2 separate regions of the Homo sapiens genome follow, and region 2 is linked to region 1. The links are contacts of gene promoters, found by promoter capture Hi-C in human tissues and cell types (Jung and others, 2019). All regions are on one chromosome and are shown on one strand. Each heading gives the region's core, a stretch centred on a gene start or on the middle of the fragment in contact. The rest is flanking DNA. Distances are from core to core; before and after follow the strand shown. Region 1 holds the start of ZBTB48 (zinc finger and BTB domain containing 48). Region 2 has its middle 6.3 kb from the start of LINC01672.

The links. Contacts are between HindIII fragments. The study calls those that stand out against the background at their distance.
Region 2: a contact is called between a fragment that was not itself captured here and the fragment with the promoter of ZBTB48 in region 1, in 1 of the 25 tissues and cell types used here (spleen).

Annotation. Positions count from the first base shown.
Region 1 is chr1:6,575,431-6,581,243 of GRCh38, forward strand. ZBTB48 (zinc finger and BTB domain containing 48) reads left to right here and starts at 4,564. Exons shown (of 11, transcript NM_005341.4): 1 at 4,564-4,706; 2 at 5,111-5,813. The coding sequence starts at 5,180. TAS1R1 (taste 1 receptor member 1) reads left to right here. Exons shown (of 6, transcript NM_138697.4): 4 at 985-1,197; 5 at 1,520-1,640; 6 at 3,223-4,325. The coding sequence ends at 4,154. LOC107984912 (a long non-coding RNA gene) reads right to left here and starts at 4,003. Exons shown (of 3, transcript XR_002958250.1): 1 at 3,917-4,003. RefSeq lists an enhancer at 3,948-4,647 and a silencer at 4,699-4,828. The HindIII fragment of the contact is 13,841 bases long and covers 1-5,813 here.
Region 2 is chr1:6,715,512-6,721,324 of GRCh38, forward strand. No RefSeq gene overlaps it. Among named protein-coding and RNA genes, the nearest start is that of LINC01672, 6.3 kb to the right of the region's middle. The HindIII fragment of the contact is 3,595 bases long and covers 1,194-4,788 here.

The sequences.
Region 1 (5,813 bases), core at 3,314-5,813:
CAGCCAATCCTGAGATGAGCAGAGTGGGCACTCTCCGGTCACTCTAAATGCCAAGGGGGATAAATGCCACTAACTTGAGGTTTTTTGTTTTGTTTTGTTTTGTTTTTTGAGACAGTCTGGCTCTGTCACCCAGGCTGCAGTGTAGTGATGCGATCTCGGCTCTCTGCAACTTCCACCTCCTGGGTTCAAGTGATTCTCTTGCCTCGGCCTCCTGAGTAGCTGGGATTACAGGCACCCACCACCATGCCTGGATAATTTTTCTTTTCTTTTTTTTTTTTTTGAGATAGAGTCTCGCTCTGTTGCCCAGGCTGGAATGCAGTGGTGCGATCTTGGCTCACTGTGAGCTCCGCCTCCCAGGTTCACTCCATTCCCCTGCCTCAGCCTCCCAAGTAGGTGGGACTACGGGCGCCCGCCACCACGCCCAGCTAATTTTTTTTGTATTTTGAGTAGAGACGGGGTTTCACCATGTTAGCCAGGATGGTCTCAATCTCCTGACCTTGTCATCCGCCCACCTCGTCCTCCCAAAGTGCTGGGATTACAGGCGTGAGCCACCGCACCCGGCCTAATTTTTGTATTTTTAGTAGAGATGGGGTTTCACCATGTTGGCCAGGCTGGTCTCGAACTCCTGGCATCAAGTGATCCTCCTGCTTCGGCCTCCCAAAGTGCTGGGATTACAGGCATTAGCTCTCTTCTCTTAGACAGATCTTTCTCTCTGATCCTTGCCTTCTCTCACCCACTGTGTCTTGGAAGTGTCAAGTGATAAGATCCAGGGCTAAAACTGTCTGTAAAGGAGTGTTTGTTAGAGGCCTCCTCTCAGGAGGTTGGTGGGGAAGATTGAGGGGCTTCCTAAGAAGGAAGGGACGAGACCTTCCTGATGGGCTGAAACCACCAGGACGGAAACCCAGGAAGGCCCCAGGCCCTTGCTTCTGGGACCATGTGGGTCTGTGCTGTCTGTGGTGGCTTCATGATACGCGTTTCTTTCAGCTTTTGGAGCAGATCCACAAGGTGCATTTCCTTCTACACAAGGACACTGTGGCGTTTAATGACAACAGAGATCCCCTCAGTAGCTATAACATAATTGCCTGGGACTGGAATGGACCCAAGTGGACCTTCACGGTCCTCGGTTCCTCCACATGGTCTCCAGTTCAGCTAAACATAAATGAGACCAAAATCCAGTGGCACGGAAAGGACAACCAGGTAATGGGGATGTGGCTACTCACCATGTAACTGGCTTATGGGCAACCTAGAGCCTGGGGGTGATGCTGACACAGTGTACAGGGAGCAGGAGGGGGGCCCCAGGGGTCCAGCTGCCACCACTCTACCCATCCTGGCCAGGGAAGCAGGGAAGACACTCCGTAGGCGAGTGTGCAGATGCCCTGGGGCGGAAGTTCACACGACCAGGGGCCCTGCCCTGGGAGTGAGCCCTGAGGGCAGATGCACAGAGATTCTGTTTTCTGTTCCACATGTGAGCTGTCCTTTGACTTGGGCCCCTACGTGTGGCCCCTCTGGCTTCTTACAGGTGCCTAAGTCTGTGTGTTCCAGCGACTGTCTTGAAGGGCACCAGCGAGTGGTTACGGGTTTCCATCACTGCTGCTTTGAGTGTGTGCCCTGTGGGGCTGGGACCTTCCTCAACAAGAGTGGTGAGTGGGCAATGGAGCAGGCGAGCTACCCAGCACTCCCGGGGGCTGCACGGTGGAGGGAGGGCCTCCCTTGGGCCCCATGTGCCCTGCCCCAGAACCAAGGCCCAGTCACTGGGCTGCCAGTTAGCTTCAGGTTGGAGGACACCTGCTACCAGACAGAATTCTGATCAAGAGAATCAGCCACTGGGTGCGGTGGCTCATGCCTGTAATCCCAGCACTTTGGGAGGCTGAGGCGGGTGGATCACTTGAGGTCGGGAGTTCGAGACCAGCCTGGCCAACATGGTGAAACCCCATCTCTACCAAAAATATAAAAAATTAGCTGGGTGTGGTGGCGCGTGCCTGTAATCCCAGCTACTCGGGAGGCTGAGGCAGGAGAATCACTTGAACCCAGGAGGCGGAGGTTGCAGTGAGCCAAGATGCATTCCAGCCTGGACCACAAAGCGAGAATTCGTCCCCCCAAAAAAAGAAAGGAGGCCGGGCGCGGTGGCTCACACCTGTAATCCCAGCACTTTGGGAGGCCGAGGTGGGTGGATCACCTGAGGTCAGGAGTTCGAGACCAGCCTGACCAACATGGTGAAACCCCATCTCTACTAAAAATACAAAAAAAGTTAGCCGGGCGTTGTGGCGTGTGCCTGTAATTCCAGCTACTCGGGAGGCTGAGGCAGGAGAATTGCTTGAACCCGGGAGGCGGAGGTTGCAGTGAGCCAAGATTGCACCATTGCACTCCAGCCTGGGCGACAAGAGAAAAACTCTGTCTCAAAAAAAAAGAAAGAAAGAAAGAATTAGCCAACTGAAAGCCTTAGACTGAGGTGTGTCCTCTGTTAGAGAGCTGTCATCACAACTCCTACAAAAGCAGTCGTATCCTGAATTCAACCTCTTTCTCTAAATGAATATAGCTATTGTTCCCTTTGTGCCCTCTTGTCCTACTGTCCCTTCTGTTGCCCATGCCAAAGACAGCTAGCTCCTTGAACAGCTTGGCCTGAATACAGATACTAGCGTGTCTGCAGCAGAGAAAAAAACAGCATTCCCCATCCAGAAATGCAAGGTCAAGAACAGAGAGCAAATTAGGTAGCTAAGGACTCAGGTCCTTAGTTGGTGTCCAGGGGCCACATTCTTTCCTTTCACCATCTCTGTAGGGACAGGAATACTTCCCTTCTGTCCTCAGAGGGTCAGGACTCAGAGAAACCACAGAGCAGCAGCTCAGGAAAGTGGTTCATGGAAATGCTGGCAAGAGAGAGGGGTTACAATGCCCTCCCTTGGGAGCAGGCTGCTCCCATCAGATCGTAACCTCTCTGGTATGTGGGCAGAGCTACCAGGTTAAGGTCCTCCCTAGGGTTTGCAAAACCCTCATGGGATCATGAGCCATACAGAACCGACCTGTGTGTCTCCAGAGTCTGTAATTAACACAGGCATTTTGAGGAAATGCGTGGCCTCAGGCCCCACTCCCGGCTACCCCCATCCCACTATGCCTAGTATAGTCTAGCTGCCCTGGTACAATTCTCCCAGTATCTTGCAGGCCCCTATTTCCTATTCCTACTCTGCTCATCTGGCTCTCAGGAACCTTCTTGGCCTTCCCTTTCAGACCTCTACAGATGCCAGCCTTGTGGGAAAGAAGAGTGGGCACCTGAGGGAAGCCAGACCTGCTTCCCGCGCACTGTGGTGTTTTTGGCTTTGCGTGAGCACACCTCTTGGGTGCTGCTGGCAGCTAACACGCTGCTGCTGCTGCTGCTGCTTGGGACTGCTGGCCTGTTTGCCTGGCACCTAGACACCCCTGTGGTGAGGTCAGCAGGGGGCCGCCTGTGCTTTCTTATGCTGGGCTCCCTGGCAGCAGGTAGTGGCAGCCTCTATGGCTTCTTTGGGGAACCCACAAGGCCTGCGTGCTTGCTACGCCAGGCCCTCTTTGCCCTTGGTTTCACCATCTTCCTGTCCTGCCTGACAGTTCGCTCATTCCAACTAATCATCATCTTCAAGTTTTCCACCAAGGTACCTACATTCTACCACGCCTGGGTCCAAAACCACGGTGCTGGCCTGTTTGTGATGATCAGCTCAGCGGCCCAGCTGCTTATCTGTCTAACTTGGCTGGTGGTGTGGACCCCACTGCCTGCTAGGGAATACCAGCGCTTCCCCCATCTGGTGATGCTTGAGTGCACAGAGACCAACTCCCTGGGCTTCATACTGGCCTTCCTCTACAATGGCCTCCTCTCCATCAGTGCCTTTGCCTGCAGCTACCTGGGTAAGGACTTGCCAGAGAACTACAACGAGGCCAAATGTGTCACCTTCAGCCTGCTCTTCAACTTCGTGTCCTGGATCGCCTTCTTCACCACGGCCAGCGTCTACGACGGCAAGTACCTGCCTGCGGCCAACATGATGGCTGGGCTGAGCAGCCTGAGCAGCGGCTTCGGTGGGTATTTTCTGCCTAAGTGCTACGTGATCCTCTGCCGCCCAGACCTCAACAGCACAGAGCACTTCCAGGCCTCCATTCAGGACTACACGAGGCGCTGCGGCTCCACCTGACCAGTGGGTCAGCAGGCACGGCTGGCAGCCTTCTCTGCCCTGAGGGTCGAAGGTCGAGCAGGCCGGGGGTGTCCGGGAGGTCTTTGGGCATCGCGGTCTGGGGTTGGGACGTGTAAGCGCCTGGGAGAGCCTAGACCAGGCTCCGGGCTGCCAATAAAGAAGTGAAATGCGTATCTGGTCTCCTGTCGTGGGAGAGTGTGAGGTGTAACGGATTCAAGTCTGAACCCAGAGCCTGGAAAAGGCTGACCGCCCAGATTGACGTTGCTAGGCAACTCCGGAGGCGGGCCCAGCGCCAAAAGAACAGGGCGAGGCGTCGTCCCCGCATCCCATTGGCCGTTCTCTGCGGGGCCCCGCCCTCGGGGGCCGGAGCTAGAAGCTCTACGCTTCCGAGGCGCACCTCCTGGCCTGCACGCTTTGACGTCACGTCCGGCGCGGAGACGGTGGAGTCTCCGCACTGTCGGCGGGGTACGCATAGCCGGGCACTAGGTTCGTGGGCTGTGGAGGCGACGGAGCAGGGGGCCAGTGGGGCCAGCTCAGGGAGGACCTGCCTGGGTGAGGAGGGCGCGGGGTGAGGGAGGGAGGGGCTGCGGGCCGCCGTGGCTGCCTTCCGCTCGGCCGCTCGGGACCTGTGGGCGCGGCGTGGGCTTCGCTCACCTGTCCCCGGCTGCCGCCCTCCGCCGTCCGGGATCCTCTCACTGTGCCGGGCCAGTCCGTTCGCTCTCATCCCATGTCTCCTTTCCCCAAACTTGGATTTTTCTCACCAGGCCCTTCTTCACGACCCTGGCCCCCCATCCAGCATCCCCCCTGGCCAATCCAATATGGCCCCCGGCCCCCGGGAGGCTGTCAGTGTGTTCCAGCCCTCCGCGTGCACCCCTCACCCTGACCCAAGCCCTCGTGCTGATAAATATGATTATTTGAGTAGAGGCCAACTTCCCGTTTCTCTCTCTTGACTCCAGGAGCTTTCTCTTGCATACCCTCGCTTAGGCTGGCCGGGGTGTCACTTCTGCCTCCCTGCCCTCCAGACCATGGACGGCTCCTTCGTCCAGCACAGTGTGAGGGTTCTGCAGGAGCTCAACAAGCAGCGGGAGAAGGGCCAGTACTGCGACGCCACTCTGGACGTGGGGGGCCTGGTGTTTAAGGCACACTGGAGTGTCCTTGCCTGCTGCAGTCACTTTTTCCAGAGCCTCTACGGGGATGGCTCAGGGGGCAGTGTCGTCCTCCCTGCTGGCTTCGCTGAGATCTTTGGCCTCTTGTTGGACTTTTTCTACACTGGTCACCTCGCTCTCACCTCAGGGAACCGGGATCAGGTGCTCCTGGCAGCCAGGGAGTTGCGAGTGCCAGAGGCCGTAGAGCTGTGCCAGAGCTTCAAGCCCAAAACTTCAGTGGGACAGGCAGCAGGTGGCCAGAGTGGGCTGGGGCCCCCTGCCTCCCAGAATGTGAACAGCCACGTCAAGGAGCCGGCAGGCTTGGAAGAAGAGGAAGTTTCGAGGACTCTGGGTCTAGTCCCCAGGGATCAGGAGCCCAGAGGCAGTCATAGTCCTCAGAGGCCCCAGCTCCATTCCCCAGCTCAGAGTGAGGGCCCCTCCTCCCTCTGTGGGAAACTGAAGCAGGCCTTGAAGCCTTGTCCCCTTGAGGACAAGAAACCCGAGGACTGCAAAG
Region 2 (5,813 bases), core at 1,741-4,240, 140 kb after region 1:
CTGGACGAGGTGGCTGCCAGGCGGAGACGCTCCTCACTTCTCAGACGGGGCGGCTGCCGGGCGGAGGGACTCCTCACTTCTCAGACGGGGCATCCGGGCAGAGATGCTCCTCACATCCCGGACGGGGCGGCAGGGCAGAGGTGCTCCCCACATCTCAGACGATGGGCGGCCGGGCAGAGACGCTCCTCACTTCCCAGATGTGATGGCGGCCGGGAAGAGGCGCTCCTCACTTCCTAGATGGGATGGCCGCCGGGCAGAGACGCTCCTCACTTTCCAGACTGGGCAGCCAGGCAGAGGGGCTCCTCACATCCCAGACAATGGGCGGCCAGGCGGAGACGCTCCTCACTTCCCAGACGGGGTGGGGGCCGGGCAGAGGCTGCAATCTCGGCACTTTGGGAGGCCAAGGCAGGCTGCTGGGAGGTGGAGGTTGTAGCGGGCCGAGATCACGCCACTGCACTCCAGCCTGGGCACCATTGAGCATTGAGTGAACGAGACTCCGTCTGCAATCCTGGCACCTCGGGAGGCCGAGGCTGGCGGATCACTCGCGGTTAGGAGCTGGAGACCAGCCCGGCCAACACAGCGAATCCCCGTCACCACCAAAAAAATACGAAAACCAGTCAGGCGTGGCGGCGCGTGCCTGCAATCACAGGCACTCCGCAAGCTGAGGCAGGAGAATCAGGCAGGGAGGTTGCAGTGAGCCGAGATGGCAGCAGTACCATCCAGCTTCGGCTCAGCATCAGAGGGAGACCGTGGAAAGAGAGGGAGAGGGAGACCGTGGGGAGAGGGAGAGGGAGAGGGAGACCGTGGGGAGAGGGAGAGGGGATAATCCATGAGTTTTAAGCTGTGCACCATTCTGGGCAGCGTGATGAGATCTCTCGCTGTAAGCTTGATCCCGTCTGCAACGTGAATCCTCCCTTTGTCCAGCGCATCCAGGCTCTACCTGCTGGTTAGTCACTTAGCCATCTTGGTTGTCAGAGCTACTGTCATGGTATCACCGTGTTTGTGTTCAAGAAACCCTTGTAGTACTTAACATTGGCCCCAACTTGCAAGAGTAGTGATGCTGGCACATTGTTATAATTGTCCTATTTATTATTACTTATTGTTAATTGCTTACTGTGCCTAATATATAAATTAAACTTTATCATAGGCATGTAGTCTGTAGGAAAAAACAATATACATAGGGATGGGTACTATCTGAGGCTTCAGGCATCCGCTGGGGATCTTGGAACATATCCCCTGTGAATAAGAGGGGACTACTGTATGCTAAAACGGGGAGGAGAGAAAGAGCTGGAAACAAAAAAATGATGGAAGTGGAGAAGCCAGGAGATGTTTTCATTCACTGATAGGCAGAGGAACAGAGTTCAGATTTGAGTACCAAGGACCCCCCAGGAGCAGAACATTGCCAAGGAAAGCCCTAAGTCCCTCTTCCTGAACTGGGGTAGATCAGCCTTCTCCTCAGCATCGCTGATCTCGGGAAGCACATGGCTCTGCCATTTGGTAAGCTTCGTGTCTTAGTCCGTTTGGGCTGCCATAACCAAAGACTATAGATTGGGTGGCTTCAACAACAGACATTTATTCCTCACAGTTCTGGAGGCTGGACAACTCCAAGACCATGGCGCTGGCAGATGTGGTGTCTGGTGAGGGCTGGCTTTTTGGTTTACGTCTGTCTTCTGTTTCCTCATATGGCAGAAGGGCTGAGGTACCTCTCCAGGGCCCCTTTTATTTATTTATTTTTTAATTTTTATTTTTAGTGACTGGGTCTTGCTCTGTCACCCAGGCTGGAGTGCAGTGGCATGATCATAGCTAACTGCAGCCTCCAAATCCTGGGCTCAAGCAATCCTCCCACCTCAGCCTCTCAAGTAGCTGGGACTACAGGCGTGCACTACCATGCCCAGATAATTTTAAAAAATATTTTGTGGCTGGGCGTGGTGGCTCACGCCTGTAATCCCAGCACTTTGGGAGGCCGAGGTGGGCGGAATACATGAGGTCAGGAGTTCGAGACCAGCCTGGCCAACATAGTGAAACCTCGCCTCTACTAAAAATATGAAAATTAGCCGGCCATGGTGGCGGGCACCTGTAATCCCAGCTACTCAGGAAGCTTGAGCCCAGGAATTTGAGACCAGCCTGAGTAACATAGTGAGACCCCATCTCTACAAAAAATGTTTAAAAATTAGCCGGGTGTGGTGGCACATGCCTGTAGTCCCAGCTACTTGGGAGGCTGAGGTGAGACGATCGCTTGAGTCCTGGAGGTTGAGGCTACAGTGGGCTGTGGTGGCACCATTGCACTCCAGCCTGGGTGACAAAACAAGACTCTGTCTCAAAAAAAAAAAAACAAACAAACAAAAAACCTTCTGGGTTTTTGTTGGTCGGTTTGTGTTTTGTTTTGTTTCAATTTGTTTTTCTGTGAGTATTTTATCTTATGAAAATATTGAGAGTCCTTGGGGTGGAAAATGGAGGTGTTCTTGTCTAATGGGTATAGGGTTTCAGTTTTGCAAGATGAGAGTTCTGGATATTGATTTCACAACAATGTGAATGTACTTAGTGTTACTGAACTGTACACTTAAAAATGGTTAAGATGGTAAGTTTTATGTGTATTATGATTAAAAAATATATATATATATGGAGCCTTGACCCCTTGACTTTGGGTGGCTTTTTAATCCAGATACTTTGCTTCTATTTTTATTGTCATCTGGAAAGCCAAGCTGTAAGCAGAAATGCTACTGGTTAGTAAGAGATAGAAAGTTCTGGAACTCAGCAGAGTCACCATTGCTTAGTGCCATACCTGTTCACAGTGCTCACAGCTGGCATTACTAAATGAGTTTTCAACTTTAGAGAAGCACAGCTTTGATTGTATACAGTGGCTGGCCAAGGACTCAGGTCTTCAGTGTTAAAGCTGAAGACGCTTCTCGTGAGGCCGGGAGAGGGTTCCCAATCTCAGCACTATTGACATTTTGGGCTGGATAAGTCCTTGTTGTAGGAACTGATCTATGCATTGAAGGCTATTTAGCAGCATGCCTGGCTTCTACTCATCAGATTCTAGCAGCACCAGTCCCCGGGTGTGGCAGCCAAAAAATGTCTCCAGACATTGCCAAAACCCCCTGGGCACACAAAATTGCCCCTGGTTGAGGACCACAGGTGATGAAGCTGTCGGTCTCAATACACACTTCTCTTCTCCAACACTGGCTTTTCCTACTGCGCCACTGTGAGCAAAGATTTCTAGCTTCTAGAATAAAATGAATTGAAAGAGAAAAATATTTAAGCTAACATTTAAAGCAAGCTTGTCCAACCCGTGGCCCGTGGGTTGCATGCAGCCCAGGACGATTTTGAATGTGGTCCAACACAAATTTGTAAACTTTCTTAAAACATTATGAGATGTCTTTGCTTTTTTTTTGACGGAATCTCACTCTGTTGCCCAGGCTGGAGTGCAGTGGCATGATCTTGGCTCACTGCAATCTCTGCCTCCTGGGTTCAAGTGATGCTCCTGCCTTAGCCTCCTGAATAGCTGGGACTACAGGCATGTGCCACCACGCCCGGCTAATTTTTGTATTTTTAGTAGAGATGGGGTTTCACCATCTTGGCCAGGCTGGTCTTGAACTCCTGACCTCAGGTAATCTGCCTGCCTCGGCCTCCCAAAGTGCTGGGATTACAGCTGTAAATTACGGTGCCTGGCCTTTTTTTTTTTTTTGCTGAAGCACATCAGCTATTGTTAGTGTTTAGTATATTTTATGTGTGGCCCAAGACAATCCTAACAATGTGGCCCAGGGAAGCCAAAAGACGGGACACCCCTGATTTAAAGAATGCTTACAATGTGCCAGATACTGCACTGTGCTACCTGATTAATGATCTCATTTAATCTTTTCAACAATTATCTGATGTAATTATAGACAGCCTCATTTTACAGTTGAGGAAACTGGGGTTTAGAGAAGTTGAATAACAGTGCGAAGTGGCTTATGCCTGTAATCCCAGCACTTTCGGAGGCTGAGATGGACAGATCGCTCAAGCCCAGGAGTTTGAGACAAGTCTGGGAAACATGGCAAAACCCCGTCTCTACAAAAAATACAAACTTAGCCAGGCGTGGTGGTGCTTGTGTGTAGTCTCAGCTACTTGGGAGGCTGAGATGGGAGGATCCCTTGAGCTCAGGAGGCGGAGGTTGCAGTAAGCTGAGATCGCCCCACTGCACTCCAGCCTAGGAAGCAGAGTTCAGACCGTGTCTCAAAAAAAAAAAAAAAAAAAAAAAAAAAAGAGGTTGAGTACTCGTTCCAGCTCACGGAGCTAGTAAATAGAAAGACCAGGATTCAGACTCAGGTTTGTATCTTTCAATGACTGTTTTTATGTTTCCTTGGTTTATTTATGTTTTCTCTTTGAGATTAACTTATATGATGATGTTTCAGAGGACTTTTAGCCATAGGTGTGATAACACCAGCTTGATTTTAGAATTCCCTGGGATATGCGGCGTGTAGATGTTATCTGTGACCCATGAAGGTAGAGAATGTTTTATCGGCCACTCAACAGCTCTGACTCTTAAGATAAAGTCTCTATGAGTTAGGAGGTAAGTACATTACTGCCTACATCACTGCCCCTCTGGGAAAAATGTCGGTTAAGGGGCCACAGCACTGGTCCCCTTCCCAGTTGTAATAATGCTTGCATGTCCCTTAACCAGCAGAGGGCAGACTTGTGGTCCCAATGAACAGAAGCGTACAAAGAGACTGCACTTGAAGGTTTAGAATAGGAAGGGGGATGTTTCAGGAAAATGGCGCCCCCATCACCTGCTTGTGCAGAAGCAGGGCTGTTTTGTGGACAATGTGTTTGATTCTCTGGTTCTTTTCTCTTTTTCTTTTCATTTTTTTTTTTTTTTTTTTTTGAGACAGAATTTTGCTTTTGTTGCCCAAGCTAGAGTGCAATGGCGCAATCTTGGCTCACTGCAACCTCCGCCTCCCGGGTTCAAGCAATTCTCCAGCCTCAGCCTCCCTAGTCGCTGGGATTACAGGCGTGCACCACCGCGTCTGGCTAATTTTTTTTTGAGACAGAGTCTCACACTGTCATCCGGGCTGGAGTGCAATGGCGTGATCTTGGCTCGCTGCAACCTCTGCCTCCCGGGTTCAAGCGATTCTTCTGCCTCAGCCTCTCGAGTAGCTGGGATCACAGGTGCCCGCCACCACGCCTGGCTAATTTTATGTATTTTCAGTAGAGACGGGGTTTCACTATGTTGGCCAGGCTGGTCTTGAACTCCTGACCTTGTGATCCACCTGCTTCAGCCTCCCAAAGTACTGGGATTACAGGCGTGAGCCACCGTGCCCGGCCCTGGCTATGTTTTTTGTATTTTTTTTTTTAAAGTAGAAACAGGGTTTCACCATGTTAGCCAGGCTGGTCTTGAACTCCTGACCTCAGGTGATCTGTCCGCCTCAGCCTCCCAAAGTGCTGGGATTACAGGCATGAGCCACCACGCCTGGCCTCTCTGGTTCTTTTCAAAAGTGCACGACCTCCTTCCAGAAGGCTCACAATAAGTGGGCATACCACCTTAGTTCTGTTTTCCCAGTCCTGGTTTATCTTTTTGTATTTTTTTATTTTGAGACAGTGTCTCTGTCACTCTGTCAGGCTGGAGTGCAATGGTGTGATCTTGGCTCACTGTAGCCTCCACCTCCTGGGCTCAAGCAATCCTCCCATCTCAGCCTCCTGAGTAGCTGGGACTACAGGCACATGCCTCCACGCCTGGCTAATTTTTGCATTTTGTGTGGAGACAAGGTCTTGCTATGTTGGCCAGGCTGGTCTCAAACTCCTAGGCTCAAGCCATCCGCCTGCCTTGGCCACCCAAA